3 separate regions of the Homo sapiens genome follow, and regions 1 and 3 are each linked to region 2. Evidence: promoter capture Hi-C in human tissues and cell types (Jung and others, 2019). All regions are on one chromosome and are shown on one strand. Each heading gives the region's core, a stretch centred on a gene start or on the middle of the fragment in contact. The rest is flanking DNA. Distances are from core to core; before and after follow the strand shown. Region 1 has its middle 54 kb from the start of ISG20. Region 2 holds the start of ACAN (aggrecan). Region 3 has its middle 79 kb from the start of ACAN.

The links. Contacts are between HindIII fragments. The study calls those that stand out against the background at their distance.
Region 1: a contact is called between a fragment that was not itself captured here and the fragment with the promoter of ACAN in region 2, in 4 of the 25 tissues and cell types used here (H1 embryonic stem cells, aorta, bladder and 1 more).
Region 3: a contact is called between a fragment that was not itself captured here and the fragment with the promoter of ACAN in region 2, in 3 of the 25 tissues and cell types used here (IMR-90 fibroblasts, aorta and liver).

The regions. Positions count from the first base shown.
Region 1 is chr15:88,691,262-88,694,069 of GRCh38, forward strand. No RefSeq gene overlaps it. Among named protein-coding and RNA genes, the nearest start is that of ISG20, 54 kb to the left of the region's middle. The HindIII fragment of the contact is 5,407 bases long and covers 1-2,808 here.
Region 2 is chr15:88,802,175-88,804,874 of GRCh38, forward strand. ACAN (aggrecan) reads left to right here and starts at 1,262. Exons shown (of 19, transcript NM_001369268.1): 1 at 1,262-1,635. It overlaps LOC105370960 (a long non-coding RNA gene), which reads right to left and starts at 1,344. Exons shown (of 3, transcript XR_001751648.1): 1 at 1,276-1,344. The HindIII fragment of the contact is 7,348 bases long and covers 1-2,700 here.
Region 3 is chr15:88,723,125-88,725,824 of GRCh38, forward strand. No RefSeq gene overlaps it. Among named protein-coding and RNA genes, the nearest start is that of ACAN, 79 kb to the right of the region's middle. The HindIII fragment of the contact is 6,960 bases long and covers 1-2,700 here.

The DNA.
Region 1 (2,808 bases), core at 130-2,629, 110 kb before region 2:
ACCTAGCTTAATGCAGAGACACTTAGGCTAGAGAATGTGATAGGAGGAGACCCAAGCTCTGCAGAGGACTCTCCAGTATAAAACAGATTGGGTTTGCTTCTGTGCCACTCCAGAGAGGACGAGCACCCCCCAGGGATGAAAGTTGCCTGAAAACGAGATGGGCTGCCATGCAAGATAATGTTGTTGGAGCCTTCCAAGCCAATGCTGGTGACTACTCATGAGGGATGTTGTGGATTGATGGTTCTCAAATGTTGTTCCATGGAACACTGGTCTCTCAAGAGGCTCCATGAAGAAAGAGTTCCCTGATCATATAAGTTTGAGAAACACATCCTGCTATATTCTCCTTTCGGTAATTTGATAATGCATTTGAGATCCCAGGGAGTCCTGCAATATAAAAACCTGCTTAACTTTTTAGCCCAATGTTTCTCAGAAGTATTTTTCTCTGGAATTCCTTTATACTTAATGCTTGTTAATATCGAAATATCCTGCAGGCCTGGTAGGATACAGAGCAGAGCTTCTCAAACTGTCTGTGGTGAAGGATCAGGGTTTTGCTTGTTTTTCGTCTGTCATAAACCTATACTTTCTTAAAATAACACAAAAACGAATTACTAGAAAAAATAAAGACATGAAATACAAATCTAGATTTTTATTAGATTTAATTAACATAAGAAATACATTTCTGGCTGGGTACGGTGGCACACGCCTGATATCCCAGCACTTTGGGAGGCTGAGGAGGGCAGATTTCTTGGGCCCAGGAATTTGAGACCAGCCTGAGCAACATGGTGAAACCCTGTTTCTACAAAAAGTACAAAAATTAGCCAGGTATGGTGGCACCCATCTGTAGTCCCAGCTACTAGGGAGGGTGAAGTGGGAGGATCCCTGAGCCTGGGAGGTTGAGGCTGCAGTGAGCTATGATCATGCCACTGCACTCCAGCTGGGTGACAGAGTGAGACCCTGTCTCAAAAAAAATTACATTTCAATAAATAAAACCAGAACAAAAATAACACGAACAAAGAAAATAATTACAAAACTGTACATGTTGTCCATTGAAAGTGTGTGTTTAGACAGTTTCTATAGAGAATTGCTATTACAGTCATATCTTTCCGTCATTCTGCAATCATAATGAAACAGTATTGGACAGGACTCACACTTATGTAGTCAATTGATTTTCAACAAAGTTGTCCATGCAATCCAGTGAGGAAAGACGAGTCTTTTCAACAAATGTTGCTGGAACTGAATATCCATGTGGCGAAAAAATAAACCTTGACCCATACCACATACCATGCACACAAATTAGTTCAAGACGGATTACAGTCCTAAATGTAAATGTTAAAATTATAAAATTTCCAGAAGAAATACACAAGAATATATTCATGATTTGAGAGTAGGCAGAGGACACAGACAGCAATAACCCTAACAGAAAAAAAAGATACATTATATTTCATTAAAATTAAAAGCTTCTGCTCACAAAAAGATACTTTTTTTTAAATTAAGACAGAGTCTCACTCTATTGCCCAGGCTGGAGTACAGTGGTGTGATCTAAGCTCACTGCAACCTCTGCCTCCTGGCTCAAGCGATCCTCCCACCTCAGCCTCTTGAGTAGCTGGGATTACAGGTGCGTGCCACCACGCCCGGATAATTTTTGTATGTTTAGTAGAGACAGGGTTTTGCCATGCTGGTCAGGCTGGTCTTGAACTCCTGACCTCAAGTGATCTGACCGCCTCGGCCTCCAAAGGCGCTGGGATTATAGGCATGAGCCACAGCGCCCGGGCAAAAGACACTTCTAAGAAGATGAATAAGTGAGCCAGAGACCGGATAAAATTATCTGCAAAACATATATCTTAGGTGTAGGTAAACAGGTGAGTAAACTTATCTCACTCTCAGGGCTCACATTTGCAGTACTGCCCCAGTGCCAGAGGCTTCCAAATAGGCAACAGCATCCCCTTGGGGCACGGCTGACACGTCTGAGTCCTAACAGTGACACCCGATATTCATCATCATGGTCCCCTTTTGTTTATATGACTGAAGTAGTTTGGGAACCCCATTGTATGACCCTACATGGAAAGTGACTATTGAAACCTTTGGGAAGGTGGATTGCTATTGCATTCTCCAACATGCAGACTAAAACCCTTTCTAGAGAGTTGACTGTGGTCTGGGGAGTGCACCCTGAACAAGTGAGAGTTTCCTTCCTGACCCAGGGCCTGCTGGAGGGTCGGGGGTAACTTGCCACAACAAGCAGCAAGGGGCAGGGAGAAGTGAGTCTTGTCTGTGTAGACAAAGAGAGGGAGCCATCAAGACAAAGAATCTGTCAGGGACAGGGCATCCCGGCCTGATATACTGCAGTAAGCATCTGGGACTTAGTGGGAAGCCATTATGGAGTTGTAATCAGGAAAGTAACAAGAGTTTCTCCCAGTATTGGAAAGTGGCAGATTCCAATCAGGGATGTTCCAGAAAGTGAGAAGGGGACCTTGAGCTCCAACACTCTCTTTTTTTTCTTTTTATAATTTTTTATCTCTAGTCACTCACTGTGGTAGCAAACACACTTTTACTGTAACCAGGTCATATGTCTGTTGTCAGTAGGTCCAACCTAAGAACTGAGTTGCCCATTTTAACTTCACAATGACCGTGAGGCAGAAGAGATGAGGGGCCACAATCCTTGTGTGAGGTGGAGAAATGGCCCCTGTAGATGGGTGAGAAACATGGAGTTTCCTGCAGAATAAGGACCAGCAAACAGGGAGTGCCTTTTCCCTCTTCTGTGACCCCAATTGTCTTTGCACATTTGTTGTAGTAGTTTGAACAGAACAGAGG
Region 2 (2,700 bases), core at 12-2,511:
CCCAGGCAGAGATGGCCAGTAAAATAACCACATAATTCCAGTGGAGTCGCCCTGGGGAAACCGAGGCACTTCAGTTCCTTTTCATCAAGGAACTGATTAAAGTGTGGTCTATTATCTCTGTAGTGGGGAGTCCCGAAAGATTCCACTTCTTCCTCTTCTTGCCCAATGAGAGGGTCAGGAAGCTTCCACCACCATCCTGACTGTGGCCACCACATCCTGGTGTGAAGCACCACCAGCTTCCTCCACAAGAACTCTGAAGGTCACCAGCCAGCTTGAGTCCTCCGAAGGTGCTGTGGCTCAACCAGCAGCCTGTGTAGCAGAGAGCACAAGACCTGGGACTCGAACTCAGTCCCACCTTCAAGAGGGATCTCCACCACTTTCTGAGCCTCAGTTTTCACATCTTTGGTTAGGGGCAGGTGGGAAGTTGCCATATTTACCTTGTTGGGCTCTTTGGAAAAATTAAATGAAATGTTAATGTATGTTACACAACGGGCTCATAGGAGGGATTCAAAAGCTGCTAGTTCTTTTTCTCCTTTTCCTGAAAACGGTATTAAAGAGTACTGTAGAGACACTGGAGAATTCCTGCTTCATATGAGATGTCCTTGGTCTCTCCCGGGGAATTTGAAGACCCAGAGACTCGCAGCTCCCCGTGAGCCTCCCCGCTGACGCCTTACCTCCCCCTCTCCACCATCCCCTGCCATCCCGGTGTACGCCACCCCCAAAAAAACTTTCAGCCAGCTCCTCGGTGAGGGTCGTTCCAAATCGTGGCCGACAGTAGCGGGCTGCACCCTCCTTAGATCGCGTCGTGGCCAGCCTCAGCTGCAGAACCCCGCCGGGCGCCCGGGAGCCCTGTCCCGCCGCGGCGGCCTCAGAGTCCGGGCACTTGGGGATTCTCTGAGGGTGCAGCCCTCCTGGGCCCCTCCGACTGCGGAGCTGCCGACCGCAATGCAGATGCGGGCCCTCCAGCCCTTCTCGCGCCGCCTTCCTCCCGCCAGCCCCGGAGCTGCCGGGTCCGCGCCGCCCCGGGGAGCGCTCCTCTCCCGCCCTGAGCGCAGGCCGGCTTCCCCATCGGCGCGCCGGTCCGGAGCCAGGGTCCAGCGCGCTCCAGACGCCTCTGCCTTCCCCTCCCCCTGTCGGCCGCCCCTCGGTCCCTGGGGGTGGGGTTTCCCTTTGCGCTCGCCCCCTCCCGCCCCCACCCCTCACGGGCCCTCCCCTCCCCCGCCCGTCCCTATGTATGTGTCACAGCGCGCCATGCCCGCCCGCCCGCCCACCTACCTCCCCGCCGCTCCAGAGGGGGCTCGCAGAGCTGAGGACGCGCGCAGCGCTGCTCAAGGTCTCTCTCTCTCAGCACCCTCGCCGGCCGGCGTCTGACGCGGGTGCCAGGGTCTCCGGGCACCTTTCAGTGTCCATTCCCTCAGCCAGCCAGGACTCCGCAACCCAGCAGTTGCCGCTGCGGCCACAGCCCGAGGGGACCTGCGGACAGGACGCCGGCAGGAGGAGGGGTGCGCAGCGCCCGCGCAGAGCGTCTCCCTCGCTACGCAGCGAGACCCGGGCCTCCCGGCCCCAGGAGCCCCCAGCTGCCTCGCCAGGTGTGTGGGACTGAAGTTCTTGGAGAAGGGAGTCCAACTCTTCAAGGTAACTGTCTCCTTCCCTCCAGAGCGAGGCTCTCCCAGGGCGCCCGGCGAGCCAGGAACGGGACTGAGACTGCACGCCCCGGGGCTGGGGGCTGCACTGCCTTGGTCTCCGCCCTAGAGCTATGTGTGCCGGGGGCGCAGCACATCCACCGGCTGCGTCCGCGGTGGAGTTGAGCAAACTTTTTGGCTGTTGCAGACTCAGTGAATGGGGCAAAGGAACACGTGAGGAGGGGCACTTGTCTCCTAGTCCGCCAGGATGAAGGAACAAGGGAGCCTTTTCTCCAAACACCTAGGTGATTTTAAATCCTAGGGTCTGGAAAGACCCATGGTTGACAGAGTAGCAGCTTCAGAGTCAAGGGAATGTGGGTTCAAATCCCCGAGGTGCTACTTTTGAGCTGGAAGGTGTGCTTCACCTTCCTGAGCCTTGGCCTGCCGTCTGTCAGCTGAGAGGGAAAAGGCCTTCGCGGGGTCTGGAAGAATAAATGAAATCATATGGACACTATGTCAGGGACACAGCGGGTCCTAAGCCGAGGCTAGATAGTCCATCCTTGGCCACTTGGCTTACTCCAGGGACCAGAGTGCCTGAAGAGTCTGCCCAGGGGAGAGTGGCAGAACCTGGGACAGAGCTACTGAACTGCCAGCAGGGGAGAGGAGAGCAGTGCCCTGAACACACGGGTGTCCAACCAAGAAGGGGCATTTCTCAAGGAAGAAAGGGGAGGGGAGTTGAGGACACACGACCACGAGCGGTTTTTCCGTCTGTGGGTTCCTCTTCAAACGAAGCCAATGCTGGTGGAGCAGGAGCCCTTTCCAACCCTGGGGCTGGGTTGGAGGCTGTCAGTATGTCAACTGAACCACACTCTGGGCAGAGCAAGCTGCGGGGGTGGGGGCTTGTCTCTGGTTGTGAGACAGGATCCAACCCAAACTTTTCCATCATTATCCTCCTTTCAGTCATGAGCTGGGTTCTGACAGGATCCTACTAGGGTTTCACCATGAAGAAGCTGGAGTTCCAGCATGTTGACTGATGTGTAAATTCTGGTTCTGTGGGGCTGGCTGCCAGGAGGAAAAT
Region 3 (2,700 bases), core at 55-2,554, 79 kb before region 2:
GATGGGATTACAGGCATGAGCCACCTGCCTGGCCTGTTCTGACTTTTATCAACACACATTAGTTTTTCCTCATATAAATGGACCAACGAGTATGCATTCTTTTATCTCTGTCAACCTTTCTTCAACATAATGTTTTTGAGATTCTTTCGTATTGTTGTGCATCAATAATCTATTCATTCTTCATTCAAGAATAATTCGTTCTTCTGATTGCTGAGAAGTATTCCATTATGCGGATGTGCCACAATTTGTTTATCCATTCAGGGACATTGGGTTGTTTTCAGTTTGGGGCTATTATGAATAAAGCTGCTATGTTTTTCAACAAACGTTCCATTGCTATTCATGAGGGAAAATTGTCTTGCAATAAATGATACTAGAGCAATTGGATATCTATTTGGAAAAAATTAACTTTTACCCCTAACTTATACTTCATGCAAAAATTAATTCAAAATGGATTATAGGCCTTAAGTTGGGAGGGTAAAACAGTCAGTCTTCCATAAGAAAACATAAAAAAAGTCTTCATGACCTTGGGGAGAGCAAGAATTTATAAACAGGGCATAAACGCATTAATCACTAAAGAAAAAAAAAGAACTTTATTAATGTCCTTTATCCAAAGACATCACTAAGAAAATGAATAGATAAGCCAAAGACTGGGAGATGTTTGTAATACATATATATAACTGACAAAGTAGTCCTGTTAAAAATATTTATTTTTGAAACTCCACAAGTCAATAAAAAGAAATAACAAAAAAATAGGCAAAAGATTTGAATATTAACAAACGCTATCCAAATGTCTATTAAACTTGTAAAAAAAAAAAAATACCCAGTATCGGGCCAGGTGCGGTGGCTCACGCCTGTAATCCCAGCAGTTTGGGAGGCTGAGGTGGGCGGATCATGAGGTCAGGAGATCGAGACCATCTTGGCTAACACGGTGAAACCCTGTCTCTACTAAAAGTACAAAAATTAGTCGGGCATGGTGGCAGGCGCCTGTAGTCCCAACTACTTGTAAGGCTGAGGCAGGAGAATGACATGAACCCAGGAGGCAGAGCTTGCAGTGAGCAGATTGCGCCACTGCACTCCAGCCTGGGGGACAGAGTGAGACTCCGTCTCAGAAAAAAATATATATATATCATTCATCAGTGCAAACTGAAGCCATAATGAGACATTACTACAAACCCACCAGAAAAAGTGAAATCAAAGACTGACAAGGGCTCGGAGCAACTGGAACTCTCATCTATGGTTGGTGGGAGGGTAAATTGGTTCAAGCACTTTGGAAAAATGTTTGGTCGGGTCTACTAAAGGTAAACAGCACTGTATGACCCAGAAATTCCACCTCTGGGTACAGAGCCAACAGAAAGGAGTCCAAATATTCACCAAAGAGACATGCACAAATATGTCTATAGAAGCTTTATTCATAATACTCAGCATACTTTAGTCCAGATAAAATAATAACGTAATCTTCTTCTTTTTTCTTTTTTTTTTTGAGACAGAGTCTCACTCTGTCACCCAGGCTGGAGTCCAGTGGTGCAATCTTGGCTCACTGCAACCACCGCCTCCTGGGTTCAAGGACTCTCCTGCCTCAGCCTCCAAAGTAGCTGGGACCACAGGCACCCATCACCATGCCCAGCTAATTTTTGTATTTTTAGTAGAGACAGGGTTTCACCACGTTGGGCAGGCTGGTCTCGAACTCCTGACCTCAAGTGATCCACCCACCTTGGCCTCCCAAAGTGCTGTGATTGCAGATGTGAGCCACTGCACCCAGCCTGTAATCTTCTAAGAAGAGTTCAGCCATAGATTTGAAAGGAGAAGGGCACCGAAAGGGCCACGCAGAGGGCTACCCGCCTCAGTTCAGGATGGAGACAGATAAAAGTGAAACAAAAGCAGGTGGTCCCTGGAAGGGCACTGCTTATCTGATTAACCTGGAGGTGAAGGTGGGAGGTCCTGGTCCAAGCTACCTAAGTAAGTCTTCTCAAGTTACATTTGAGTGTGAGAGCAATGGTCTACTAACGGTGCTCTGCAATTACCTCTTGCATGTGTAAACAGAGTGGATGTGCCCTGTTGGAAAGGACAAGGGATCTACCAGAGAAGCCAGGGAGAGCAAGGTCTCTGAGGGGAACATCTCCCTATTTAGGGTCCCAAGTGGGCACCTACTATTCAGTGAGACCCTTGCACACTGGCTGTAGCTCGCTGGTCCCAAACCACAGTGGAGCCAATTCTGCTTCCAGAGAACTGGATCTTTAGCTGCCCACTGCTCAACCATGCTGCAGCTCTTCTCCTCCCACAAATACTGCCAGGGAAGGACTGTGCTGATGGGGTTCTGGACAGGCAGCTCCATGTCTACCCACATTGGTCGTGCATGACACTGCATGCCCAATATGAAAGCAGCAAGAACCACATTCAAACACAGAATGGAAGGGCTGTTTGACAAGAAGATAAACAAGCAAGGCCCAGTGCAGGCACTGTGGTTTAGAACCCACAGGGAAGGGACACACATGAAACTTGGTCCTGTGTAGTGACCTGGGTCTTCCACAGGAGATATTTGGACAAACCTCCCACCTCAACACACCACAACTTCACTAAACTTTACCTCCTGGTGATAGGGGAAGAACCAAAAAAAAAAAAAAAAAATCTGTCATTTTTAGTAAGAGGAACTATAGAAAAATACTGTTCGGAAAAAATAGAAATTAATATAATGTGTTCCTG